Linked DNA regions of Homo sapiens: all the other regions are linked to region 5. Evidence: promoter capture Hi-C in 16 types of primary human blood cells and fetal thymus (Javierre and others, 2016). All regions are on one chromosome and are shown on one strand. Each heading gives the region's core, a stretch centred on a gene start or on the middle of the fragment in contact. The rest is flanking DNA. Distances are from core to core; before and after follow the strand shown.

Evidence for each region. Contacts are between HindIII fragments. The CHiCAGO score rates a contact against its expected background, and 5 or more counts as called.
Region 1: a contact is called between a fragment that was not itself captured here and the fragment with the promoter of SUGP2 in region 5, in 1 of 17 cell types (erythroblasts). The highest score is 6.4, in erythroblasts.
Region 2: the fragment with the promoter of FKBP8 here is called in contact with the fragment with the promoter of SUGP2 in region 5 in 1 of 17 cell types (fetal thymus); the score reaches 5.7 in fetal thymus.
Region 3: a contact is called between a fragment that was not itself captured here and the fragment with the promoter of SUGP2 in region 5, in 1 of 17 cell types (M1 macrophages). The highest score is 5.5, in M1 macrophages.
Region 4: a fragment that was not itself captured here is called in contact with the fragment with the promoter of SUGP2 in region 5 in 1 of 17 cell types (activated CD4 T cells); the score reaches 5.8 in activated CD4 T cells.
Region 6: a fragment that was not itself captured here is called in contact with the fragment with the promoter of SUGP2 in region 5 in 2 of 17 cell types (M0 macrophages and monocytes); the score reaches 6.2 in M0 macrophages.

The regions. Positions count from the first base shown.
Region 1 is chr19:19,461,480-19,466,207 of GRCh38, reverse strand. It overlaps GATAD2A (GATA zinc finger domain containing 2A), which reads right to left. Exons shown (of 12, transcript NM_001384528.1): 2 at 594-868. The coding sequence starts at 862. Among named protein-coding and RNA genes, the nearest start is that of MIR640, 29 kb to the right of the region's middle. RefSeq lists an enhancer at 3,153-3,934. The HindIII fragment of the contact is 3,138 bases long and covers 1-3,131 here.
Region 2 is chr19:18,542,323-18,546,876 of GRCh38, reverse strand. FKBP8 (FKBP prolyl isomerase 8) reads left to right here and starts at 3,304. Exons shown (of 9, transcript NM_012181.5): 1 at 3,304-3,391. RefSeq lists a silencer at 3,059-3,488. The HindIII fragment of the contact is 8,591 bases long and covers 2,913-4,554 here.
Region 3 is chr19:19,345,531-19,350,184 of GRCh38, reverse strand. MAU2 (MAU2 sister chromatid cohesion factor) reads right to left here. Exons shown (of 19, transcript NM_015329.4): 13 at 2,819-2,905; 14 at 1,247-1,296; 15 at 953-1,030; 16 at 749-860. Among named protein-coding and RNA genes, the nearest start is that of MAU2, 27 kb to the right of the region's middle. RefSeq lists an enhancer at 753-1,253. The HindIII fragment of the contact is 7,729 bases long and covers 1-4,654 here.
Region 4 is chr19:18,585,705-18,590,027 of GRCh38, reverse strand. REX1BD (required for excision 1-B domain containing) reads right to left here and starts at 1,230. Exons shown (of 5, transcript NM_001100418.2): 1 at 1,128-1,230; 2 at 951-1,033; 3 at 345-615. The coding sequence starts at 1,226. RefSeq lists a silencer at 883-1,402. The HindIII fragment of the contact is 1,268 bases long and covers 2,274-3,541 here.
Region 5 is chr19:19,030,283-19,034,896 of GRCh38, reverse strand. SUGP2 (SURP and G-patch domain containing 2) reads left to right here and starts at 1,380. Exons shown (of 11, transcript NM_001017392.5): 1 at 1,380-1,460; 2 at 3,815-3,946. The coding sequence starts at 3,826. ARMC6 (armadillo repeat containing 6) reads right to left here and starts at 1,294. Exons shown (of 9, transcript NM_001199196.2): 1 at 967-1,294; 2 at 659-766. The coding sequence starts at 687. RefSeq lists silencers at 1,291-1,720, 2,141-2,220 and an enhancer at 2,147-2,648. The HindIII fragment of the contact is 2,753 bases long and covers 1-1,875 here.
Region 6 is chr19:18,641,485-18,645,680 of GRCh38, reverse strand. The region is part of intron 1 of KLHL26 (kelch like family member 26); the gene reads right to left. Among named protein-coding and RNA genes, the nearest start is that of KLHL26, 6.6 kb to the right of the region's middle. The HindIII fragment of the contact is 3,768 bases long and covers 1,049-4,196 here.

The DNA of each region.
Region 1 (4,728 bases), core at 313-2,812, 430 kb before region 5:
TAAGAGACTCATAAAAGGTGAATATGAGGAAAGTCACTCTTGAAGTAATCAGTGTTGACTAAGGACAAACCAACAGAGCAAGCCAAAGACCAGCACCAAGTGAACATGGAGTCGAGTGAGCATCCCGTACCCGCTCCGAGGAGGGTGCCCTGGGCTGGGCTCCCAACTCTATCCCTAGCCAAGTGACCAAGGTAGGTGTAGCATTCCTGGCCCTCTGACCTCTAGATCTGAAAAGCAGGGAAGCATAACCAAATGAATAACTCAAGTGTCCCTACAAACCAAAAGCACCGAGTTGGACAGACAGCAGGTGCGTGGGTGGCAAAGGCCTACTGATGGCAGGGGAGCTGATGGAATGTGCCACTCCTTCTCCTGTGAGACCCACACTCTGTGCCACTTGCAGTTGGGACCTGGGGCCCTGGAATGGCCACAACAGCACAGCTGCCAGTGGTGGGTGATGCCCGAGCTGAGCCTACAGCCCTCTCCACAACCCCGCCAAGCTGTTACCAACAGGCCTGGAGTGTGGCCAGCCCCAACCTGGGCACACTGGGCTTGTCTCCAGGTTCCAGCCCCTCCCGCTGGCTCCTCCCACTCACCTGTGTGAGGTGCGCATGTCCACGGGCCCATCGCCCACCAGCCCTTCGCCTCTGCCCATGGCCATGGCCGTGGCCTCTGTTGCCCTCAGCAATCCTTGGGTTGGACCTGCTCCCGGCTCAGGTGTCACCCTCATGTCTCCGTCAGTGTTTAAATCTGAAGCCAACAATCCTCTCTCCATTTTTATTTTCTTGCTCTCCACATCGTCCTCTGTTGGGTCCCGTTCAAGCGCTCGTTTCTGACTCCGTGTTCGGCATGCTTCTTCGGTCATTCTGAACTTGGGAGGGAGGAGAAGACACAACATTTTAACTGGGTGCAATGAAGGTGCCACCTTCTTGGAGACTTTTCAGTGTTGCTTTCAGTGTTTTCCTCCCTATGGGAAGGATGGCAAAAGAATGTACAACAAACGCAGGGCCCAGAAAAGCATCCCCAGGACATTTCATCACTGCCTTGAGGAAGGCTAGGCAGGAGGGGGGTGTCCCCAGCCTCCACTGTGTGGCTGAACATTGGTGGAGCCAAACTACACCCTGCCCTGTTGGGGGCCAGAGGCAGCAGGGTGCTGAACAGGAGCAGTGGAAGGTGGCTGCTTATCAGCAAGGAAAGGCTCAACAGCAAACAGAGGAAAAGTTGTTCTAGATCTCAACTACCTGCCTTTGGGATTTTCAGCACCTGCAATGTCTGGAATCCAGGAGGGCGGTGACTGCACTGTTCCAGGAGCAGGGTCGGGGCCTGGGACTAGCCCTATGCTGTGGTGACTCGAGTTAACCCCAGCTTCTCCCCTTCAGGGAAGGGAGGTCTCCTCACTCCCTGCTCACCTCTGGGGAGTGGGGACTGGGGATCACATTTAACCCTTTGGTTGCCAGTGAGGTACACTTTGAGTAGAGTGAGGCCTGGCCCATCAACGTGCCACTGCCCTGTACCTGCAGCACACACATATCTTGATTTAAAGAAGAAAGAAAAAGAAGAAAAAAACAGCTGAGTCAGTTTTTGATCCCATGACATCACTGGCTCCACATGACCCTTCCCAGGATTCAGTCGGAGAGACAAAGCACTTTCCAGAAAACCAGTCTGAACCGGTTCCAGACAACAGGCTGAAGTGTTGTTAACCCTCACGGAGACAGGACGACAGCACAGCGATGTCTGTCTGCAGGGAGGCGGCTGGCATTCCACAGCAGGGTCTGGGACACTGGCACTCTTAAAGGGGCTGCTCTAATCCCGGCCTCGACGTCCCAACAGGACAGGGCACAGGAATTGAGACAGAGAGAGTCAGGTTCTTAAAAAAGCATCCCAGTGTTTACCAGAGGACAAAAGAGAAATTTAGCAGCTGAGCTCTAGTGGAATTCCCGAAGTGTCACAGTTTTCCATGGGACAGTTGGTGCCCACTTGGGCCCCACAGAGAACCCCAATTCACACCTGTGGCATGCTCTATGCTGAAGCCCTCTGGTCCTATCTGTGTCCTCACAGGCAGGGCACTCATCTTGCCAGAGCCTTAGTTTCCTCACTGGCAAACACCCTGGGGAAGCCTGTCCCAGGTAGAGCCAGGCAGACCGTCTGGAAGCTGGGGGCAGCACAAGGCAACACAGGGGTCCTGTCGCCATCCATGGGACGCACTCCAGAGCTGACTCATCTGCAGCTTCCTTAAAGGAGCCAATTTCACAAATGAGCAATAGCGCAAGGCCCTGCCCAAATGTGCCCCCTCATGCACTCAAACTGAAAGGAAAGAAAGAGACAGCTGCTTCACGCTCCTGGAGCCAGAGGGAAAGCAGGCCGTCTACATGCGTGTTGTGCCAGTGTGGTCCAGCCAGGGCACCCGGGCACCGGCTTGAAACACTGGGGTCTCCTCAAGGCCAGGAAATCCCTGGTGCTTCACACAGGCCCAGAGCAGCTCTGTGCTCCCTACCCTGTCTCACCACCACCCAGGTGCCATGGCTGACCCTTAACATGACCAGGCTGAGGCAGGGAGACTCCGAATCTCAAGGGCACAGGTTTTCAGACTTGCCTCCACCTGTCCCCAGCCCCTCTGGCATCCCAGCCTGCACCTACCACCTATCCCACACCAACTGTGCGGCCTCCGCTGCCCCCGGCCACCCTGTCCACCCCCGCCCCCGCTCCTGCTCAGCTGCCCCTCAGCTCCTCCGTGGAATGGAGCCCAGGTAGAGGTCGAATGTGGAGGTCATGGCCTCACTTCTCTGGGGGAGGTGAGGAATGCTACGGTGTCCCTCTCAGCCCTGAAGTTCTATGGTCTCTGTCCTTCCTTCCTCCGACATGCCTTGCCCATAAACCCCATCTGAACTGCTCACTAACAGGTTGTCTGTCTTGCCTCCCATGAGACCACAGATAAGTCACTGCCCTCAGAGTGTGGGTCCCCTCCTCTCATTTCCCTCACTGTGGGAGGGGTGGGACATTTCTCCTTCAAGCACTGCCTTAGACAGCAGGTATGTGCACTCCCAGGCCCAGGGCAGGGAAAAGCCTGTTTAGGTGAGAGATGAGGGGAGGCCAGGACCTCGGACAAGTAAGGGCCCCACTCTACGGATGAAGCTTCCCAGTCTGGCCTTATAACTACTGTTGGGGATGAGGTCCCCAGGTGGACAGGGAGAATGCACCTCCACCTCCAGGACATAGCACCCTTCCCTGTGACTCAAAGAAACCCCCATGCTCCCCACTCTGCCCCTGTTCCAGCCAGGCAGGGCCCCTCCCAGCACAGCCTCCCACCCTGTAAGCTCTGGGCTCAGTTCCATGAAGCCCATTTGAACCCAAGACCCTGAATGAGTTCTCGAAGCTGCTCCAGCCCACATGGACAAGGTGGAACTGACAGCCAGATCAGGGGGGCCGTGCCTGTGTGGCCTCACTTCGTTCTCACTGGTATAGGACCAGAGGCTACCCAGAGGTTCTGAGAGATGCAGGATGGAGCAGGGCCTCAGGTGCCCAGCAGAGCTGCTCCCTCCAGCCCCAGAGACCTCTCTTGTTGGGCCCCCTGTTGTGGTAGCAGGTCAGGGTCCTCAGCAGAGGGCTGGCTGGCGTGTACTCAAGGTGCACAGCAGCTCACTATGAAGCCTAAGGCCTGGAACTCTGCCAATCCCAGGCCCGGCACTGACGGCTGGCCTCACAGCGCCCGCCTGCCCTATGCCTGTGCCTCCCAGAGGCAGGCCACTGCGGGGCGGGGCCCTGCGGCACCCCTCCCCCACCTCAGGAAGGACAGGCACAGCTGGAGGGGGTGGGGCCAGCCCCCGAGTGCAGGGGGCTCCTTTGGCAGGAGCCTCCTCCACTGCCAAGACCAATGACGCAGGGCCTGCTACTGGCCAATCCTCGGCCACCACAGGACACTTGCTCCTGGGGAGGGCAGGTGCCAGTAAGGAGTGGCTCCTCCCTCCTCGAAGCAAGCGGGACTAGTGCCCCCAGCACAACAGGGCTGGCGGCCACCGCACAGCAAGCACAGACCCAGGAGCAAAGTTGTCAGGAAGAAGAAAGCGCGACAGATGACTCCTGCAAAGAGCAGTGGGGGGTACATTAGAACACTTCCTAAAAGTAGGTGAAGAGGCTAGGTCACCCTGACTGGCAAATGAGGATTCATTTCAAAATTCCCAGTGACAGGGGAGAGTGAGGGGAAGGCAGCTCCGGTGGCGGAAGTTCCAGGCAAGGGTTGTGCGGGAGCTGCCAGTGCATGGAGAGTAGCCCCGTCCTGGGGGCTGAGATCCTCTGCCGGCTGCTGCCTGCACAGACAGATCCCAACAGCAGTGTGCCCATTTGAAAGAGGAGAGCACTGAGGCTGCCAGGGCTGCCTGAGACACAAGGTTGAAGGTCAGCCTCACCCTCCTCCTCACTCTCTCCAAACACCCCAGGCCGGACTGCAAGCCAGCACAGATGAGCAGCACCAGCAAGGCTGAGTGGGCATCGGTCTCCTCTGATACGTCCCGCACACACTGGGCTGGCAGGTGGTGGGGGCGTAGCCCAGCTCTTCCTCAACTAGGGGCCAAAAAGGACAGGTTCCAGCCACACTAGAGACCCCACACAGGTACAGCGCAGCTCTGACCGGGAGCACCTCCATGGGCTTTAGGGCAGATAGGAATGCTGCTTTATTTTCGTAAAATGCCACCATCCAACTGGCCTGAGAGCCTCAGGCAGAAAACATGTTCTAGA
Region 2 (4,554 bases), core at 2,055-4,554, 490 kb after region 5:
TTGCAGTGAGCCGAGATCACACCATTGCACTCCAGCCTCACTAGACTCTGTCTCAAAAAAAAAATTAGTCATGTGTCATGGCAGGCGCCTGTAATCCCAGCTACTTAGGAGGCTGAGGCAGGAGAATCGCTTGAACCTGGGAGTCAGAGGTTGCAGTGAGCCCAGATCGTTCCACTGCACTCTACGTGGGAGACAGAGGGAGACTGTGTCTCCAAATTAATTAATTAATATTCTGTAGAGGCAGGCTCTCACTACGTTACCCAGGCTTAGGTTGCCCAGGCTGGAGTACGGTGACGTGATCTTGGCTCGCTGCAACATCTGCCTCCCGGGTTCAAGCGATTCTCCTGCCTCAACCTCCCAAGTAGCTGGGATTACAGGCATGTGCCACCGCACCCGGCTAATTTCTGTATTTTTCGCAGAGACAGGTTTCACCATGTTGGCCAGGCTGGTCTCGAACTCTTGACTTCAGGTGAACCATCTGCCTCAGCCTCCCAAAGGCTGTTTTTGAGACTGGGTCTTGCTCACTGCAACTTCCACCCCTGGGGTTCAAGCAGTCCTCATGCCTCAGCCACCCCAGTATCTGAGATTACAGGCATGCACCACCATACCCGGCTAATTTTTGTATTTTTAGTAGAGACGGGGTTTCACCATGTTGGCCAGGCTGGTCTAGATTTCCTGACCTCAGGTGATCCACCCACCTCGGCCTCCCAAAGTGCTGGGATTACTGGCATAAGCCACCGCACCCAGCCCTCCAGGTGATTTCTTACATAGCTCTGCTATGCTACCACCTTTAACCTCCCTTCCTTCCTCAGTGATTTCCGTGAGACCCCACCACTACCTTTTGTGGCAGGCACTGTGCAAGCCTCAGAGCTATAACAATGAGAAAGAACAAAGCCTTCCCAGACTTTGGGGCTCTGCCAGTGTAGAGGGCAAGGCAGAGGTAAATCAAAGCAGTGGCTCACGCCTATAATCCCAACAGTTTGGGAGGCCAAAGTGGGAGGATTGCTTGAGCCCAGGAGTTCGAGACCAGCCTGGGCAACATGGGGAAACCCCATCTCTACAAAAAATATAAACATTGGGCCGGGCGCGATGGCTCACGCCTGTAATTTCAGCACTTTGGGAGGCCGAGGTGGGCAGATCACAAGGTCAGGAGATCGAGACTATCCTGGCTAACACGATGAAACGCTGACTCTACTAAAAATACAAAAAATTAGTCGGGCATGGTGGCAGGCGCCTGTAGTCCCAGCTACTTGGGAGGCTGAGGCAGGAGAATGGTGTGAACCTGGGAGGCGGAGCTTGCAGTGAGCCGAGATTGCGCCACTGCACTCTAGCCTGGGCTACACAGCGAGACTCTGTCTCAAAAAAAAAAAAAAAAATTAGCTGGACATGATGGTGCACCTGTGGGCCCAGCTACTCAGGAGGCTGAGGCAGGAGGATTGCGTGAGCCCAGGAGATAGACATGGTTGCAGTGATCTGAGATCGTGCCACTGCACTCCAGCCTGGGTTTCAAAGTAAGACCCTATCTCAAAAAAAAAAAGGCAGAGATATAAGTAAACTAGTTTGGGAAGCCGAGGCAGGCAGATCATGAGGTCAGGAGTTCCAGACCATCCTGGCCAACATGGTGAAACCCTGTCTCTACTAAAAATATACAAATTAGCTGGGCATGGTGGCGGGTGCCTGTAGTCCCAGCTACTCAGGAGGCTGAAGCAGGAGAATCGTTGGAACTTAGGAGGTGGATGTTGCAGTGAGCCGAGATCGCGCCACTGCACTCCAGCCTGGCGACAGAGAGAGACTCTGTCTCAAAAAAAAAAGAGAAAGAAAAAAAAAAAAAAGGCCAGGCACGATGGCTCATGCCTGTAATCTTTGGTACATCGAGGTGGGCGGATCACGTGAGGTCGGGAGTTTGAGACCAGCCTGACCAACATGAAGAAATCCCGTGTCTACTAAAAATACAAAGTTAGCCAGGCATGGTGGTGCATGCCTCTACTCCCAGCTACTTGGAAGGCTGAGGCAGGAGAATCGCTTGAACCTGGGAGGCAGCGGTTGCGGTGAGCTGAGATTGCGCCATTGCACTCCAGCTTGGGCAACAAGAGTGAAACTTCTTCTCAAAAAACAAAAACAAACAAACAAACAAAAAACCCAAGTAAACTAGTTATGAAGTGGACGTTCATCAACTTCATTGTGCCAAGACAGCTAAAGGGGGCACCTGGTCTTGCCTTGGGGAGGTTGGGAGGGCTTCCTGTAGGAGGTAACCTGGGAACTCCAACCTTAGAAGTGATCTCCAAAAAGCCAGTTACCACCTCCATGATAGCTACCTCCAAAAGCTGGTGTCTGACTCATCCATCCATCCATCCATCCATCCATCCATCCATCCATCCACCTACCCATTTATTGAGCTTCTATAGATGCCAGGCATGGTTCAAGGAGGTGCTGGGTACAAATCAGGTAAAAATCTCTGCCAGGATGAAGCAGAGTGAGGGATGGTCCCTCCAACCACAAGCAAAATAATGACAAGATAATTCTGGAAGGAGTAACTGCTAGGAAGGAAATAAAACTGAGTGAAGGAGGGAGAAGTGTCCCGGTTTCAAAACAAGATCCACAAAAACTTAGCTAATCAAGGATGCCACCTTCTTCCCGAGCCATGGGGACCTTATCACCCTCCAGCAGACAGTGCATAGAGGAGGAACTCCTCCCAGTGGCCCTGCTGGCTCAGTCGCCTGCGCAGCAGTAATCGAGCGCCTCCAGTATGCACCAGGCAACCTTCTAGACATTAAACTGTGTGGGGGATGGGAGGGAGGTTTCTGTATGCCTTTGGGCACGTCACTCCTCCTCAGGCCCTCAGGTTCACTTCTGTAACTAAGGCTTCAGGATGGGTCATTCAGCAACCCCAGAGCTGCCCTGCCCGTCAAGCTTGAACTCTTTAAGGAAATAACATTTAGAGTGGACTGTGCCCCCAGCAGCCCCCAAGGTGAGAGTGCATAGATGGGGGTGTTTATCCCCATTTCGCAGATGGTCAGGATGAAGCTCAGAGGAGAGGCAGGAGTCGCACAGGCTGCGCGATACTGACCCGTGTTGGGGTCCAGCCCAGGGTCCCCCGCCCCCGCCCCAGCCCCCGCCCCAGCCCCCGCCCCAGCCCCCGCCCCAGCCCCAGCAGCCGGGAGGCTTCGGTCCCTTTAAGAACGCCCCGCGGGGCCAAGCAGGAAGGGGGAGGTGCCAACGCCCGGGACGGACGTCTGCATGAGCCAACGGGTGCGGCAGTCGCGGCAGCGGCGGCCAATGGGCACGGCAGGGGCGGGGCCAAGCGGCCGAACCTGGTTCCCGAGGCGCGGCGGCCGCGGCTGGGGGCGGGGAGGGGGGCGCAGGACCCCAAGTGGGGGTCCCGGAGCCAGAGGCAAGTGTCCTGGGGTGCTGGGGGCGCCGTGCCGGCCGGGCCGCTGCCCTGGCCTAGGCTGGTCCGGGGGCTAGCGCGCCGGGGGCTGCGGCCGATGGGCGGGGCGAGGGGCCGCGGGGGTGGCGAGCCGGGGGGGCACGGGGGTCGGGGGTGCCCGAGGGGGCGCGGCCGGGCGGGGGTGGCCAGGGATGGGGGTCACTGGGGGCAAAGGGGATCCAGTGGGGGGGTCCCGATGGAGGCGTGCAGGGCCAGGGGCGCCCGAGGCGTGCGGGGGTCGGGTGCCCCAGACTGGTGGCGTCAGACAGGCGTGGGTCGTTGGGGGCCTGGGTCGCGGCTTGACTGAGGGCCCGGCCGGGGCTGTGGGGCGTCAGGAGAGCGTGGGGTGTTATGGGATCGGAAAGGGGGGGGCGTCTGGGGACACTGGAGTGTTTACGGCGAGACGGAGCGGCTGTGGGGGGAGCTGGCCCGTGCTGGGGGCGGTGGTGGTTGGGGTGGGGGGTGGGAGGGGAGGCCGAATTGTGCGGGCGCGGGGAATTATGGGGGTGGGGGCTGGGAGGGTCTCTCAAAGTGGGGCTCCGAGCCCGGGAGGAGCAGGCAGGTGAGGGTTAGGGAGGGGATGCGGCGGGCTGGTTTGATGGCTGTGCCACACTCTTCTGAGCTTGGGGCCTGGGGGACGGAGGGGTTGGTTATTGGTTCAGGAGGTCTGGGGCAAGGAAGAGGCTGTAGAATGTGGTGGGACCTCGACCACTCCTGGAAAGGAGGCTGCTTTGAGGGGGTGGGACCGAGGCCTGATGAGAGGAGGATGGTCTCCTGGGGAAGGATTTGGGCCAGGGTCCCTGATGTTGGGGTTGTGGGGGATAGTGTTAGATTCAGAGTGTGGAAGGAAAAAACGCTTGGGGTTTCTGGGTGATTACAGTTGGTGCTTTTGGGGAGGGTCTCCCCTTTGGAGAAGAGGCTGGAGGTGGGAGGCCCTGGTAAAAGATTCAATTTCCCCCAGTGGCCTTAGAGGCTCTAAAAATGGCTTCCCTAAGGCCTCGGAGGCTGTCCTCTCCACAAAAATCCCAGCACCCTTCGCTCAGCTTATAATCAGGCAAAGCCACAGGGCCTGAAGCCCCAGGTTCAAATCCTCCTTTGGCCTTTGGCTTTCTCTGTGACCTTGGGCA
Region 3 (4,654 bases), core at 620-3,119, 310 kb before region 5:
AGCTTGGATTACAGGCGTCCACCACCACGCCCCACTAATTTTTGTATTTTTAGTAAGAGACAGGGTTTCACTATGTTGGCTAGGCTGGTCTTGAACTCCTGACCTCAGGTGATCTGCCCGCCTTGGCCTCCCAAAGTGCTGGGATTACAGGCGTGAGCCATTGTGCCTGCCCAAAATATCTTCTTAAAAAAAAAAAAAAAAAAAAAAAATTCAAGACCTCGTGAGATCAGTGGGTGAGAGTAGGCGAGGAATTGACAGGAAGGACTGAGGCGGCCAGTCCCACCAGAGACTGGCTGACCTTGGGTGGGGACCAATCCCAGGGGCCACTTGTACCCTGAGAGGACACTGTGTTGGCCAAGGATGATATGTTTGGAAGTCCGGCTGAGAGGAGACACCTCTCTGCCCCTCAGGTGTCAACACATAGCATGGGGTGGCTGCGTCATCCCCAGTAGCTCAGGGCAGCTCCTTTGGTTCTGGCTTCAGCTCCCCTGAGCCCTGGGGCTCTGCCTGCCCAATGTCTGAGGCCACACCCATCAGGCCTCCTGCCTTCCCCCCACACCCTCTGTGGGTGCCCAGCTCCTCTGGCCCTGCCTGCCCAGGCTGTGGGAGTCAGGGCATCCACCTAGACGTGCTCTTCGAGGGGCATAGGATGAACAGTGCCATGCCACCCTTAGGGTGCTGGCCGGCTCCTGTCCCTCAGCCAAGCCCCACAGGCACCCAAGCGAGGGGCCCAGGCCAGGGCACTCACCCTGTGGTTTCCCAGCACATAGAAGATGTGGCCCAGAAGCACGAGGGAGCAGGCTGTGAGCCGGTTCAGGTCCTCAGCATTGGACATCTTCAGAGTTTCCCGCAGAAATCGCCTGACAAGGAGAACATGGACGCTGATAACTGCAGGACGGGGCCTGGGCTACCCTGAGCATGGCCCTCACGCCACCCTCTGCCCCACACTTACTTGGCCTCGTTGTAGCGTCCCTGGAAGAAGGAGAAGAGCCCACGCACATAGAAGGCGGCTGCTCGGAGGCAGTGCGAGCTGCAGGGAGAGTGCAGTATCACATGGGGTGGTGATTTTGAGAAGCAGGTTTACAAAACGGCAGTGGGCAGCTGGGGGCTATTTCTGAGAGCCCCCACTGCAGACTGTCTGTGAGGAGGGGTATGGGGTGTCAGGGTGCAAGGGGCAGTCAGGGGCCCCAACCAAAGAGCACGGGGAGCCTAGGCCGTGCGTGGAGTGGTGCCTGGAGCGGCTCACCTGACAGGGAAGCTGTGGTCCGGGTTGATCCTCTCCAGCAGACTGTAGAGCTGCGGGGGAAAGAGCCAGTCAGCACCATTCTGCATCTTCACAGGAGAAAGGTCCCCAAGACACACTGCAGTGCATGGGAATTTCTCTACACCCCCGTCGGGACTGTGGCCTCCAGGCTGAGCCTGGTGACTGACCAGCAAGAGCAGCCTCTGGTGAGAAGGGCCGGGGGCAAGATTTCCACACCCTCAGCCAGCCCTGCCTGTGCCACCCTGTCCTGCAGTAGGTGACAGGGGCCTGGGCGTCCAGAAGGCCTTTGTATGGTCAGAGTGGTGCTGAGGGGCTGGCCTGGCAGTGGGTAGGTTGGCAGGCTGGGGCCCGTGAGCCCTGTGGGCTGTGGGGGTGAGTGGGTGGGATTTCTCTGGAGGTGCAGGGACCCCGGGAGGCTCTGATGGGGGCGTGATCTGACTGATAATTTAGCTGCCCTCTAGCTGCAGAGGCACAGGGGAGCCAAACTCCTCCTCAACACTGCGAGCCCACGTATGGCATCGGATGACTAAGCCGGGGCTGGGCTTTCTTTTTCCTTTGAGACAGGTTCTTGCTCTGTCGCCCAGGCTGGAGTGCAGTGGCTGGATCATGGCTCACTGCAGCCCTCAATCTCCCTAGCTCAAGCAATCCTCCTGCCTCAGTCTCCCGAGTAGTTGGGACCACAGGCCTGCACCCCACCAAGTTTTTAAAAAATTTTTTTGTAGAAATGGGGGTCTCCCTATGTTGCCCAGGCTGGTCTTGAACTCCTGACCTCAAGTGATCCTCCTGCCTTGCTTCCCAAAGTGCTGGGATTACAGGTGTGAGCCAAGCACCTGGCCTGATACACTTTGGAGGTAGACCCCCAGAGGTGAAGGAGATACTAGAACTGAGGGACATCCTAGGGCTGAGGGGGATCCCAGGGCTGAGTGGGCATCCCAGGGCTGAGGAGGGAATCCCAGAGCTGAGGGGGATCCCAGGGCTGAGGAGGGGATCCCGGGGCTGAGGAGGGGATCCCGGGGCTGAGGGGGATCCCAGGGCTGAGTGGGGATCCCAGGGCTAAAAGGGACAGAAGAGGGAACCTAACTCTTATGCAAGCATTGGTTCAGAAGCGCCACGTGAGGGCAACCCTGGGCATCCCCACCCAACACTGCAGCCAGTGAGTGCCCCTGATCCTGCAGGGGCATCAGCACAACCTGGGGACAAGGTGCTCTGGCTGCTGCCCCTTAGGACTGAGCCTCAATGCCTGGCCGACATCCTAGAGCAGACAGCTTGGGCTATAAGACCTTGTCTGTGTGATTCATACAGCTTGGTTTGTTTGTGATAAAGAGAAGTGTTCTGTGGCTATGGGAATGTTTTTGTCCCAGACCTGGCCTCCCCCGGCCATAGCCCGATTCACCTCTGGGTCGCCTTGTGTGTCTGTGTCGGGTGCCGCCCATCCCTCAAAAGGTGAACACCCTGGGGTCTGCTGAGATGTGCTGGTGCCCAGGACAACCCCCTGGTTCCCCAAAAAGAAGAGAACAGAGAGAAAGGATACCGAACATGAAGCATGTCACCTACTACCTCTTGGTGTCTATTTCCTTCCCGTATATACACACTCGCCAGGTTGGTGACGATGAAGGCCCACAGCTCCTGGTGGTTGGTGAGCTGGAATGGGAGGCGGGGACATTAGGGGGCTGGGTCGGGTGCTGTGACCCATGTGGCAGTGTCAGAGCACCCACAATCTCCACGGAGACTACTTTGGAAAAGACTTGTTCTTTTCATTTCAAACACACTTGTTTTGCCTCCTAAGCTCAAGGATAACACAGCTATTACTTCTTCTCATTATAAAACCATCATCTGCGTTACGGGGCAGTTAGAGAACACAGAAGAGGAAAACCAGCCACCCCAATCCTACCCTCAGAACATGTCGGGTTTTGGTCCATTTTCCACTGTCTCTCAGGACTGAGACCTGGTGGACCCTTCCTCCAGGCCACAGCCAGCAACCTGTGGGACCCAGGTGTCCACTGCCATCAAGGCATATGCTGGTCCTAGGCGGGGGTCACTCTTCATAGGGGGAAGTGGGGAAGAGGGGAGCTGTTGTCCCACAGGGGGCCAGCACAGGCCCCGCTCCAGGTAGGTGATGCTGTGTCAGAGACCAGAAATGCTGCTGATGACAGGTGGTGGATGGGCCATGGTCCCTGGCTCTTCTTGGCAAATGAGATCGTTCGTCAAGAGAGGGTCCAATCTATGTAGCTCAAGCCCTGCTCAGACCCTGGTTCCCAGTGGGGCTGGGCAAGAGGTGGAGTGAGCCCAGGAAGCACAGACCCCACCTGCACAGATCCCCTCCTGGCACACACCCAGGAGGCCCAGAGGATCTTCCGAATCAAGCACAGATGCTCTGAGACGTAGCAAGGTGGGAGATGTTTGTTTCAGGGCCACAGGAGGCGTGTGTGTTTGGGGTTAGGGGTGTTGGGGTTGCATCCTGGCTCCATCACTCCTGGGTGGGCCATGAAAAAGAGGCTCTCTTTTGGCCTCGGGGTGAGGACTCCTTAGGGTACATGGCCTTGGGAACTTTGACGCGGAACCAAACCAGCAATAGCAACCACTTGTGGGGAGTGAGACGGAGACGGAGATGGCAGGATGGCAGGGCCACGAGGAGGGTCCTGGCCCTGCTGCAGTCAGAGTGAGCCAGGGTCCTGGGAGCGAGGTGAGGAGGCAGAGGAGTGGGTGCTGAGTCAGCCCTTCCCTCCCAAGCATGCTGTCTGCATGTCAGGGCTCCTGTGCATCTCTGAGGCCAGTGGCGGGGGTGGCAGCACCCACAGGCCTGCGGGGTGCCGTGGAATGGGAACCCTGTCCAACAGTCAGGGCGCACACAGGACTCCCTGGTGACCTTGCCCGAGTGGCAGACAGAGCAGCCTCTGCTCCCTGACACCTCTCCTCAGGGCCCTTCCTGGCACCACCAGGAAAAAGGTGTCCACAGCCTCCATTTCCTGTGAGGAGGTTGAGGCTGAGGTGGGGACACAATGGTCCAGCCCTGGGCTGGGGCGCTCCGTGAGGATGTGGCACCAGCCTTCTTCCAGGGCCTGGCGGGGCCCCCGTCTAAGGCCAGGAGCCTGGGGTGCTGCTTCACCCTCTCCGGCCCAGCAGGACCAAGAGTCCTCCTCTGTCCAAAGAGCACCTGGGAGATGGCCCAGCTCCACCACTCCCCATGGGAGCCCTGAACCCAGGATGGCTCTGAGTTGTCAGCTGACACTTGAGCCAATCCAGCCTTGGGGGTGGGTGCCGCAAAAGTTCCCACTCAGGCATGAAAGTGGTGTCCCCGGACGCGTCGCACCTCTCCCTCACGTCTGCCCTTGGGTCAGCTCAGGAAGCCCCTGGCCCCATAGCTGTCCCTTATCCAGATAAACAGCGCGT
Region 4 (4,323 bases), core at 1,658-4,157, 450 kb after region 5:
ATCTACGGGAGGTTGAGGGTGGGACCCTAGACGCGGAACAACCAGAGTGGGTGGAGCATTGTTGGGGCGGGATCTGGGCATCTTGGAATAGCATTTAGGCGGAGCTGGGAGAAAGCGGGAGTGCTCTGGGAATAAGGACAAAACTTGGGAAAAAAATTGGGGATGAACAGCAGAGGGCAAGGTCCGAGAATCCCCAAGTGAAGCCTTAATAGAGGATTGGGGTGGGACAGGAAGGGGTGAGGTCTGTGTATGGGATACTGGGACCACCCCCCAACCAGGGGTGCGTCATGAGAGGAGCCGGCCAGGGTCCTAGAGACACGGCGGGGAAGGGGTGGTGGCCTCACCGTGCCCAGCCGCGTCTGCTCCAGCTCCTGCAGGCTGCGCACGTGGCCGGCGAGCAGCGGCTGCCTGCGAGGCCCGCCCAGCTCTGCTTCCACCGCCAGCACCTCCCGCGAGGCGGCGGCGAAGGCCTGGGTCACCCCGTGCACTGTGCTCCGGTAGCGCGCGAAGTCGTAGTCAGGGCCGCTGCGCAGGTACTGGCGGTGGCCTCTGCGGCATGTGGGGACCCTGAGGCCGCGCCCCCAGGCTCTCAGGCCCTGCACCGGCGCCAACCACCTGAAAGGCCCCCAGGAAGTGTCCCCAGACACCAGAGGGGAGGACTGGTAGGTAGGAAGGACGCTTCCTGACTCCCGCAGGGGAACGCGAGACAGGCCCACCCCTGCTCTTGGGGAGGAGAGAGAAGCCACGAAGAGTGAGTCGTCGGGTAGTGGGGACGTGCTGTGGGGCCTTTTTCGTGAAGGTGAGGACCCGGTGCCCCGAAATCCCCGCCCCATCTGACTCTGCAGCCACACAAGGACCCAGCTCCTCCTCCAGGCACGCCCGCCGAGAACACGCCCACGCCCGGAGCGGGCGGGGGACCGAACCCTGAGCCCCTCCGCGCCCCCACTCACTCCTCCAGTCGGCGGAAGCCCTGCGCGCGCTCAGCCTGCAGCTGGTGGATGCGCTGCACCAGCGTCCGGATCGGGGCGTCTTTCTGCGGGACAGGGGGCACGGCTGGGGCATGAAGCCCGCGCCCCTGGGTCTGCGCCGCCCGCCCCGCGCCCGTTCCCGCTTGGGCCTGGGCTCACCCAGGGCCACGCCGGCTCCTCGCGTCCCCGAGCTTCGGTGGCCTCCTCAGCAGCAGGCACTGCAGGGACCGTAGGCTCCGCCGCGGTCTCGGTGATCATGACTGCGCAGCCCTGGCCAGGCTCCGGAGCAGGCCCTTCCGCTGCGCCCGACGCCCCCTACAGGCCGGGAGGTCCACGGACCCCCTACCCTGCGGCCGGCCAGCCAGAAGGAAGAAAGGGGAACCAAGACCGCGGGCCGCCCAGTCAAGCCCACCCTTCTTGTTCCCGTCCAGGGCCCGCCTCCGATCGTGTTTTTCCTTGATTGTGCGGCTCTGAATACAGAACAGCTGTTAGCCTTGAGTTCGTTCCTATGCTTGTATCTCAACACCGACTTCCACTTGAAGCGGGTACTGAGCGTGGGTTTTGACGTTCAAGAGTGTTAAGTAAGCCTGGGCAACCTAGGGAGGCCCGATCTCTACAGAAAAACCAATTAGCCCGACATGGTGGCTCCCGCCTCCAGTCCCAGCTACTCGGGAGGCTGAGGTGGGAGGATTACATGAGCCCGGGAGTTGGGGGCTGCCATGAGCTATGACCATGCCACTGCACTCCAGCCGGAGCCACAGTGAGTCTGCCTCAAAAAAAGTGCAGTGGCTGGAACTCCACCAACATTAACAGAGATTCACTGGCTCTTCAGAGAATCACAGGGGTGAAGACAAGATTCAGTGACAGGGACGGTGTCAACAGCCCACCGAGTTGAATTGGGTGTCTTGTGTAATAGCCCTGAGCCTGGAGCATAGCAGGGGCCAGAACGACCTCAAAGTACAGAGGAGGCCTTGGAGCTTCCTGCTGGAGGGATACATGGGCTAGACAGAGCTTTGGAAAGCTTCCTCCTCCAGGGGCCCAGCCGGAGGAGCAGGAAGATGCTGGTAGCCTGACTTAGTGAAGAGGGACCAGCTCAGGTATGGGGTGACAGACACCAGCCTTTAAGGGGGAAGGGACTAGGCTGTTAGTGAGTTGGGAGTTTTTCTTGCCGATGGGTTCGTGGTCTCGCTAACTTTGAAGAATGAAGCTGTGGACCTTCGCGGTGTGTGTTACAGATCAAAAAGAGTCCACGGACCAGGAGAGTGAGCAGCAGGGCAGTTTATTGAACAAAGCGAAAGGAAAGCTTCCACATGCTGGAAGGGGACCCGGAAGGGTTGCCGTTGCTGGCTCCGGTGGCTAGGGCTCATATCCCTATGTTACCCCTCCCCTTTCTTTTTGTCCATTGAGAGTGGTTCTTTTTTCAATCCTCCTCTGGAGTGTTTTTTTTTTTTGTTTTTTTTTTTTTTTTTTTTTAGTGAGACAGAGTCTCGCTCTGTCGCCCAGGCTGCAGTGCAATGGCACGATCTCGGCTCACTTCAAGCTCTGCCTCCCGGGTTCACGCCATTCTCCTGCCTCAGCCTCCCCAGTAGCTGGGACCACAGGCGCCCGCCACCACACCCGGCCAATTTTTTGTATTTTTAGTAGAGGCAGGGTTTCACCGGGTTAGCCAGGATGGTCTCAATCTCCTGACCTCGTGATCCGCCCGCCTCGGCCTCCCAAAGTGCTGGGATTACAGGCGTGAGCCACCGCGCCCGGCCTGGAGTGGTTAATTCTGAATCCTTCACTCGATTGGTTAAGAACTCAAAACACTGAGTCACAGGGGTCTTCTGTGAAAGTCCCCAAACCTGCCCAGTAAATCCTGCCAACTCCACCCCTCAGTCCCCTCTCTCAACAGGAGAGCCCAACTGCTGTTGGGGTGTGGGAGGATGACCACTCTAATTGCTTCCTGCTGAATAGGGGCATAGAAGGGGTTCTGTAGCTGAGGTTTCCTCGTGAGAGGTGGTTTGGGTGTCAACGTCCGGGTATGGGCCGGCAGGCTGGTTTAGGGGTCCTTGATAATAGGTGCTGGTTGAAGTCATCTGAGGTTCCATCTGCAGTAACATTTCTAGTTTCATTGATTCTATTCAGGAAGAAACGAAAGGATGAAGGAACTGAAAAGACATGGGCCAAAGGTTACTCCTAGAATAATCATAAGGAAGGGACCTAAAAATGGAAGAAGCCAGTGGAGAACAGGCTGTGAGAACCCTGAGGTAGTTTCGGTTGTCCCACCATGTAGTCTGCTAGCTCTATCCTGAAGTCATTTAATTCCATCTCTCACTATGCCTGATTTATTGACATAAAAACAACATTCCTTGTTCAGAAAAAGGCATGTTCCTCCCCTTTCGGCAGTGAGGAGATTGGAGATCTAGTGCTCACTGGTTCTGGAGAACCACAGCTGCTAATGAGTCTATTTGGTCCTGGATTTGAGTAAGTTGGAGAGAGATTTCATCTAGGCTGTGAGTCCACTTCCTAGGTGGTAGTAAATCCTAAACCAGCCAATAGAGGAAGTAGTGAGATTGCTCTCGGCTGAAGCTTAGCATGAATGGGCACAGCTACTGCCTCTTCTGAAAAGGAATAAGTCACAGGAGGTACTATGTAGGCTAAAGTACAAGTTCCTGTCCAGTTGGTGGGGAGGCAAATATAGAAGGATCTTCCACACACAAAGAAAACTCCTTATCAGGGTTCTATACACCCCTGTAGCTGAAAACTCATAAGGGCTGTGGTCAGTCTAAATTCATTTCTCATTCCCATGATTTGAGGGTTCAGGACAAATGGGCCACTCCTAGCAGTTGGAGCTGAATAGAATTTGCCAAGGACGTATTATGGGGTTCCTGTAAGGCAAACCGGTGGCTAGCTGCATTAAGAAAAACTCTCGGCTGGGTGCAGTGGCTCACGCCTGTAATCCCAGCACTTTCGGAGGCCAAGGCTGGTGGATCACGAGGTCAGGAGATCAAGACCATCCTGGCTAACATGGTGAAACTCCATCTCTACTAAAAATACAAAAAATTAGCTGGGTGTGGTGGTGGGCGCCTGTAGTCCCAGCTACTCGGGAGGCTGAGGCAGGAGAATGGTGCAAACCTGGGAGGCGGAGCTTGCAGTGAGGGAGATCGCGCCACTGCACTCCAGCCTGGGCGACAGAGCGAGACTCCATCTCAAAAACAAAACAAAACAACAACAACAAAAAGAAAAACTCGCGCACCCCAGACAGGAAGCAGGAAGCAATGGGGTTTTTTTAACCCTTTGCCTGTGAGAGAGGAACCAAGTCCCAGGAGGGGGATATCCTGGGCAAAAGGAAGTCTGCCCCAGCAGTAATTGC
Region 5 (4,614 bases), core at 131-2,630:
GAACGAGACTCCGTCTCAAAAAAAAAAAAAAAGGCCAGGCAAGATAGTGCACACCGGTAATCCCAGCTACTCAGGAGGCTGAGGCAGGAGATCGCTTGAACTCCTTTTGACTCCGTTTCAAAAAAAAAAAAAATACAAAATTTAGCCAGGTGCGGTGTTGCGCACCTGTAGTCCCAGCTACTCGGGAGGCTGAGGCAGGGGAAGCCCTTGAACCCGGGAGGTGGAGGTTGCAGTGAGTCAAGATCATGCCACTACACTCTAGCCTGGGCGACAGAGAAAGACTCCGTCTCAAAAGAAAATTAAACGTGTGCCATGACATGCTGGGGACTCTAAAAGACTCCATCCACATGTCCCTCTACCAGCCACACCCACTCTGGTTCAAACACCAGCCTCCCCTAAGGGCGGCGTCACCTGCCACTCCCAGAGCCTAGACTCCACCTCACTCACGTGCTCAAAGCCCGGTAGTGGCTTCCCAACCCTCTCAGAACAAAACCCAGCCTCCTTATCCGCACCTTCTCTATCTAAGCCTTCCAAGTTCCTCTTCCCCGCCTTTCTCATCCTTCCCAGCACTCAAGAGACAGCCTTCAAAACCACTTCTAGATAAAGAGCAGCCCTGCTTTCCCGTCCCATCACTCTGTTATTATTTGCACACCATTACCTGTATCTAGAGCAACATCGTTCACTCATTTATTTGTACCCTGTAGCCTCCTTGTCCCCACTGCCTAGGACGGGGCCCGACACGCAGCAGGCACTCAGTGCACAGGTGCTGAATGAATAAATAAAATGAATGAAAATAAAGCGAATGCCAGGGAAGCCGAGGATTTTGTCCCCAGGCGGCTTCTGTAAAATTCTTTCATTTTTTTTTTCCCCCCAAACCACGTACCCGAGGGTCGCGCCAGCCCGACCCTGCGGCACCCCCACTCCCCACTCCGCGCGGGACAGGCCTCGGCAGCCGCAGCGTCTCACCCGGTCTTCGCGGCCACGTGGGGAAAGGTGGGGCGCGCGGTTGTCACCCAGGGAGCCGCCTCTAGCCCCTTCCGGCCGCCGTACGCGCGCAGGCGCTGTGGCGCCCCTAGGCTTGGCCTCCCAGAGACTCGCGGACGCTCACGATAACCAAGGACGACCGCGAACCAAGGTAAAGCCAACGAGGCCACCTCGTGCGCGACGGAGGCGTCTTTGCCGCCCCTTCCGGGACGCTCACGGTGGTCGCCGCCCCCAGCAGGGAAATGTTTTGCCTCCAGAGCGTCCGCCCAGAAGAAGCGGACAGCGCGCTTGCGCAAGAGAGCCGGGCCGCGGCGGCCCGCGCCTGCGCACCAGGACTCGGCGGCGGCTTGCGCCTGCGCGGCGCGGCGCTGCGGAGACCGTTGGTTCATTTGCATGTCCCCGCCTCGCGCGGCGGCGGCGGCGGGTGAGGAGCCTGAGGCGGCGGCGGGGGTGGCTCCGCGCGCGGTGGTCTCGGGGTGAGGCCCGGGCCCTGGCGTCGTCGGTGGGTGGCTCCCGGGGTGGGAAGCTCGGGCTCGGCCTTGGGGGCCCGCCCCGGGCTCCGTGATGGCGTCGCAGGCTCGGCCCTCTGGCTGCGGCGGCGGCCGCGTCCCCGCCGGGTTGGCCTGGGTGGCCGGCTGCGGCCTCCCGGGCCCGGCGCCCCCATTTCCTCGCCCGCAGAGGCCGGGAGACGGCGGGCCGCGTCCACAAAGGCTCATTGGTTCAGTCGTTCATTCATTCCTCCCGAACTCGGAGCGGCCCCCGCTCGGGAGGAGATAACGGCGCCCAGCGCTGCATCGGGCCCTTGCCCTCTTTAGAACCGGTTCAGCCCCCACACCAGCCCCTTTACTGGCTGCCCATTCCATAGGTGGGGAAACGGAAGCACAGAAAGCTTAGAATCGTGTGATTTGAACCTGGGTCACCTGACCCGGGAACCCTGCCCTTTGCCAGCAGAGAACAAGGGGGCGCCCCGGGAAAAGGGCTGAAGGATGGGACTGGGGGAGGCGGGTGGGGGAGGCGGTGATCGTGATGGGAAATGGACCCTACGGGTTGTCTCTTGAAGTTGGAGGTTTTGCGAAGCGGGATATCTTGATGGTTAAGGATGCAGCCCCTGGACCCCAAAATGTTGCTTAATCTTTTTACTCATTCTTCGGGGCTTTGGATGCACGAATACCCTTTTTGCCAGGTTCAAATCTGGGCTGTCTGGTCTTGAATGGGTCGTTGAGTCTGTCTCCCTTTGCCTCCTCACCCTAATGTCATTCATAACAGGACCCGCCTCTTCAGTGGGTGGTTGGGAGATCGCGCAAGGACCCAGCGCAGAATGAACTGTCACTAGTTCATTGTCATTGGTTGGGGGTCCCGCCACTCACTGTCAAGAGGCTTCTTTTAGAAGGGAAGGAAGTTCTCAGAGCCTCTGTGCCCTGCTGAGTCTGTGAATGGGAAAAGAGTGATCCTGGGCCAGGCGCAGTGGCTCACGGCCTGGAATCCCAGCACTTTGGGAGGCCGAAGCGGGCGAATCACTTGAGGTCAGGAATTCAAGACCAGCCTGGCCAACATGGTGAAACTCCATCTCTACCTAAAATATAAAAATTAGTCGGATGCGGTGGCGGACTCCTGTAATCCCAGCTACTCAGGAGGCTGAGGCAGGAGAATTGCTTGAGTCCAGGAGGCGGAGGTTGCAGTTAGCCGAGATCATGCCACTGCACTCCAGCCTGGGCAACAGGGAGAGTCTCAAAAAAAGGAAGAAAAAAAAAAAAAAGATTGATCTCTTCTTTCCTAACCACGATTTGCGAGGGTTGTGGTCCCACCCTTCCTACTCTGTTATGCTCAGTTATGTGTGTTGGTTGACACCTTCCTCCAGCAGATAGAACTGCTTTCACAGAGCTGCTTTTAATGGATTCCAAGGAGATGGGCCCAGAGAAGGTTTGTCTTGCTCCTTTTCAGCCAGCACACACCTGTGAACTTCGTGAGGGCAGAGACCCCCTTAAAAGAGTCCAGACAAGGTGGGCAGATTGCTTGAGGTCAGGAGTTCGAGACCAGCCTGGCCAACCTAGCAAAACCCTGTCTCTACTTAAAAAAAAAAAAAAAAAAGATAAATAAAAAGGGTCCAGCTTGCCTCTGAAGTACCATGCGAGGATTATGGATTACTGCCTCCTTACTTCGAGGATTAAGTGAAATAGAGCAGGTTCTGTGAGCACGCATTTTTTTTTTCTTTGAGACAGTCTCGCTCTGTCCCCCAGTCTGGAGGGCAGTGGCATGATCTCGGCTCACTGCAACCTCTGTCTCCCTGGTTCAAGCAATTCCCATGCCTCAGCCTCCTGAGTATTTGGGATTACAGGCACGTGCCACCATGCCTGGTGAAATTTTTTTTTTTTTTTTTTTGAGACGGAGTCTCACTCTGTTACCCATGCTGGAGTGCAGTGGCATGATCTCGGCCCACTGCAACCTCCGCCTCCTGGGTTCAAGCAATTCTCTTGCCACAGCCTCCCAAGTAGCTGGGATTAAAGGCAGGCACCACCATGCCCGGCTAATTTTTGTATTTTTAGTAGAGACAGGGTTTTGCCATGTTGGCCAGGCTGGTCTCCAACTCCTGACTTTAAATGATCCGCTCACCTCAGCCTCCCAAAGTCCTGGGATTACAGGTGTGAGCCACCACACCCAGCCTGAATTTTTTGTATTTTAGTTTCATCATGTTGCCTAGGCTGGTCTCGAACTCCTGAGCTCAGGTGATCCGCCCACCTCGACCTCCCAAAGTGCCAGGATTACAGGTATGAGCCACCGCGCCCAGCTCCAAGTTGTTGCTCTTAGTGTATTTTTTTCTCTCTCACCATAGGGCAAAATAACATGGCAGCCAGACGAATTACACAGGAGACTTTTGATGCTGTATTACAAGAAAAAGCCAAACGATATCACATGGATGCCAGTGGTGAGGCTGTAAGCGAAACTCTTCAGTTTAAAGCTCAAGGTAAAATAAAGTGTTGTTGTTGTAGTTGTTGTTTTGGTAGGGGTGTATCTTAGGGCCAAGGCAGGAAGATTACAATACCTTGGGCAAATAATACCAGTCCTCTGATCCTTAGTTTCCTTATTTAGGAGGAGGTAAAGGTTTTTATTTTGGTTTGGTTTCTTTTTTGTGATAGGGTCTTACTCTCTCCCCCAGGCTGAAGTGCAGTGGCGCAGTTTTAGCTCACTGCACCCTTGAACTCCTAGGCTCAAGCCATCCTTCCATCTCTGCCTCCCAGAGTGCTGGGATTATAGGCATGAGCCACTGCACTTGGTCAGGGGATAATGTTTTGATCTGTCAGTCATCATTATGTAGTTATCTGGAGCTTCTCACTGGATATCCTCCCCGACCCACCTCAAGACAGTTTTGTTTATTGTTTGTTTGTTTGTTTGTTTGTTTTGAGACGGAGTTTCACTCTTGTCTCCCAGGCTGGAGGGCAATGGAGGGATCTTGGCTCACTGCAACCTCCGCCTCTTGGCTCACTGCAACCTCCGCCTCCTGGGTTCAAGCGATTCTCCTGCCTCAGCCTCCTGAGTAGCTGGGATTACGGGCATGCACCACCACGCCCAGCTAATTTTTCTATTTGTAGTAGAGATGAGGTTTTACCATGTTGGCCAGGCTGGTCTCGAACT
Region 6 (4,196 bases), core at 1,683-4,182, 390 kb after region 5:
ACCACCACACCTGACTAATTTTTGTATTTTTAGTAGAGAGGGGGTTTCACTATGTTGGCCAGGCTGGTCTCAAACTCTGGACCTTGTAATCTGCCTGCCTTGGGCTCCCAAAGTGCTGGGATTACAGGAGTGAGCCAAAGCACCCAGCCTAGCCACCACTTCTTATGCAAATGCCTGAAGCTGGCACATCCCTCACCCAGATCCCCCCACCTCACCCCCAGGAACAGCATGACTCAGTGAGCCTGGGCCCTACCCAGGCGTCTCCAGGGAGCGTGGGCCAAAAAGCGTGGATGCCAAAGGCCCATGTCGGAGAGGCTGCAAGGCCAGAAGGTTCCTCCAAAACTCTGCCGGTCAGGTACCTCACAGTGACAGAATTTTAGCTGGGGAGGTGCGACTCCCCAGAGGGTTTGCCTCCCCTTGCGACACCCCAAGTGGCCCAAGCCTCCTTTCCCTCCAAGGAGTCTAGACCCCGCGGCCCGAGCTGGGAGGAGGCCAGCTGGTGAACAAGTGTCCTTTGTGCTTGCAGCAAGGACCCCACCTCCTCTCCGCACACCCCAGCCAGGGCAGCCCCACTCTGTCCATCCCTGAGGTTCGGCTCAGTCATTAATGACCACCTCTACTAGGCAACGGGTTTTTTGTTGATCCCTCGAGATAGGAAGGAAGGAGAATAAGCTTTTCTCTTTCTTTTTTCCCCCTCGGTTGCAGAAGACAGAAGTTGGAACAAACAAGTTATATAACGTTGGGGGCGGTCGGGGGTGGGGGAGCGCAGTCCCTCCTGGGGACAGTTTCTTGAGTTGTGGTACCGCTGGAAGGGCCAGGGGGAAGACAGGAACTGCCCCCGCCCCTGGCCAAAAGACAAAACCTTCGTGGGACAAAAAGGCAGATGCGGGCGTTGCCTGGCAGGCTAGAAAGGCAGCTAGAGACTAAGGCCAGCCCCCACTGCCCCCCAGCAGCCCCACAAGCCTCACTGGAAAGGCAAAAGATCGACCTGATCCCATAGAAGGGAATTCCTACCTGCCAGACTGCAAGCCTCAGAGAGCAATAAGCTTTTGCACACCCCCATCCCTCCCTTCCTCCCTCTCAGCCACGTCTCTGGGACACTTCCTCCTTCTGTGTCATTCATGTTCCAGGCACACAAGAGGGCACAAGAGAGACAGGCTTTCCAACCTCAAGGCACCAGAGAAACACAACAAATAACGTTAGGTGGTGACCAGCATGATCAAGAATATACAACAAGCATGCGCCCCAGCAATTCTGCTCCTAGATGTGTACCCCAAAGGACTGAACATGAGTGTTTAGACAAAAATGTGTACACTCATGTTCATAGCAGCATGATTCATAATAGCCAAAAGGTGGAACCAATCTAAGTGTCCATCAACAGATGAATGGATGATGTGGTGCATCCACACAGTGGAATATTACTCAGCCATAAAAAGGAATGAAGTGCTGATTTAGGCTACAACATGCATGACCCCCAAAGCATCATGCTGAGTGAAAGAAGCCAGACTCAAAAGGCCACATAGTGCATGATTCTACCTATAAAACTTGAAAACGGATAGAGACAGACTGCAGATTGGTGATTGTCAGGGGCTGGGCAATGGAGAATAGGGGGTTAGTGCTAATGAAGATGGGGTCACCTTTTGCGGGGACAAAGATGTTTTGGAACTGGACAGCAGTGATGGTTGCACAATTCTGTGAATGTACTAAATGCCACTGAATTGTTCACTTAAAGTGGGTGAATTTTGTGTTACATATATAGTACCTCAAAAACAAAAAACAAAAATACAGGTTGGGCATAGTGGTTCATGCTTGTAATCCCAGCACTTCGGGAGGCTATGGCAGGAAGATCACTTGAGCCCAGGAGTTCAAGACCAGCCTGGGCAACATAATCAGACCCCATCTTGGCCGGACACAGTGGCTCATGCCTGTAATCGCAGCACTTTAGGAGGCCAAGGTGGGCGGATAACCTGAGGTCAGGAGTTCGAGACCAGCCTGACCAAGATGGAGAAACCGCATCTCTACTAAAAATACAAAATTAGCCAGGCATGGTGGCACATGTCTGTAATCTCAGCTACTCGGGAGGCTGAGGCAGGAGAATCGCTTGAACCCAGGAGGCGGATGTTTTGGTGAACCGAGATCATGCCATTGCACTATAGCCTGGACAACAAGAGCAAAACTCTATCTCAAAAAAAAATAATAATAAGACCCCATCTCTATAAAATAATATATATATTTTTTAAGACAGTCTGGTTCTCTCGCCCAGGTGGGAGCGCAGTGGAGCGATCTCAGCTCACTGCAACCTCTGCCTCCCGGGTTCAAGTGATTCTCTTGCCTCAGCCTCCCGAGTAGCTGGGATTACAGGCACGTGCCACCAATCCTGGCTAATTTTTGTATTTTTAGTAGAGAAGCGGTTTCACCATGTTGGCTAGGCTGGTCTCAAACTCCTGACCTCAAGTGATCTGCCCACCTCGGCCTCCCAAAGTCCTAGGATTACAGGCATGAGCCACCGCGCCCGGCCCAAAACAATTTTTAAAAATTAGTCAGGTGTGGGCTAGGCACAGTGGCTCACGCCTGTAATCCCAACACTTTGGGAGGCCAAGGCAGGTGGATCACGAGGTCAGGAGATCAAGACCACCCTGGCCAACATGGTGAAACCCCGTCTCTATTAAAAATACAAAAATTATTTGGGCGTGGTGGCGTGCACTGGTAATCCCAGCTACTCAGGAGGCTGAGGCAGGAGAATCGCTTAAACCCAGGAGGTGGAGGTTGCAGTGAGTCCAGATTGTGCCACTGCACTCTAGCCTGGGCGACAGAATGAGACAATGTCTCAAAAAAAAAAAAATTAGGTGTGTTAGTAGATGCCTGTAGTCCCAGCTACTCGGGAGGCTGAAGCAGAAGGATAGCTTGAGCCCAGGAGGTCAAGAAGGCTGCAGGTAGCTACGACACTGCATGCCAGCATGGGCGACAGAGTGAGACTCTTCCTCAAACCAAACCAAACAAACAAACAAAAAACCACAAGCCGGGCGCAGTGGCTCACGCCTGTAATCCCAGCACTTTGGGAGGCCCAGGCAGGCAGATCACCTGAGGTCAGGAGTTCCAGACCAGCCTGGCCAACATGGAGAAACCCCACCTCTACTAAAAATACAAAATTAGCCAGGCTTGGTGGCAGGCGCCCGTAATCCCAGCTACTCGGGAGGCTGAGGTAAGAGAATCAGTTGCTTGAGCCCGGGAGGTGGAGGTTGCAGTGACCATGCCACTGCACTCCAGCCTGGGCAACAAAAGCGAAACTCCATCTCAAACACACACACACACACACACACACACACACACACACACACACACTAGGTGACTAGCAAAAGTGTCCTGGGGACTACTTGAGCTTGCATGGTCAGGCAGGTGGCTCTGAGGGGCCAGAACCTTGGAGAGTGGAAGGATGAAGAGGAAGGAGACGTGGGCAGGTTGAGGCGAGGAGGTGGGTCGTGCTCCAGGCCTGGCTGTCCCATTTGCAATAAATGAAGGAACAGACGAACAATGCTACAAAGACTCAATGTCTCAAAATGACTTTTGGGAGAATGTCTTGTACCAATCTCCCTCAAAATATGATCCATTTTCTGCATGCTCCATCTTGCCACATTAGGGGTTCTCCCCACACTAGCACCTGAGGCATGAGATGCCCCTATCAGTTGCTCCAAACAGTGATTTTTCACTAGGATGGAGGATAGGGGAGAATGACAAAGATGTCTTTTAAGAAAGAGGGCCGGGCATGGTGGCTCACGCCGTAATCCCAGCACTTTGGGAGGCTGAGGCGGGCAGATCACAAGGTCAAGAGATCGAGACCAGCCTGACCAACATGGAGAAACCCCGTCTCTACTAAAAATACAAAAATTAGCCGGGTGTGGTGGCACACGCCTGTAATCCCAGCTACTCGGGAGGCTGGGGCAGGAGAATTGCTTGAACCTGGGAGGCAGAGGTTGCAGTGAGCCAAGATCACGCCACTGCACTCTAGCCTGGGCAACAGAGCAAGCCTCCATCTCAAAAAAAAAAAAAAGAAAAAAGAAAAAGAGCCGGGTGTGGTGGCTCATGCCTCTAATCCCAGCACTTTGGGAGCCTGAGGCAGGCAGATCACCTGAGGTCAGGAGTTTGAGACCAGTCTAGCCAACATGGTGAAACCCCGTCTCCACTAAAAATACAAAAAT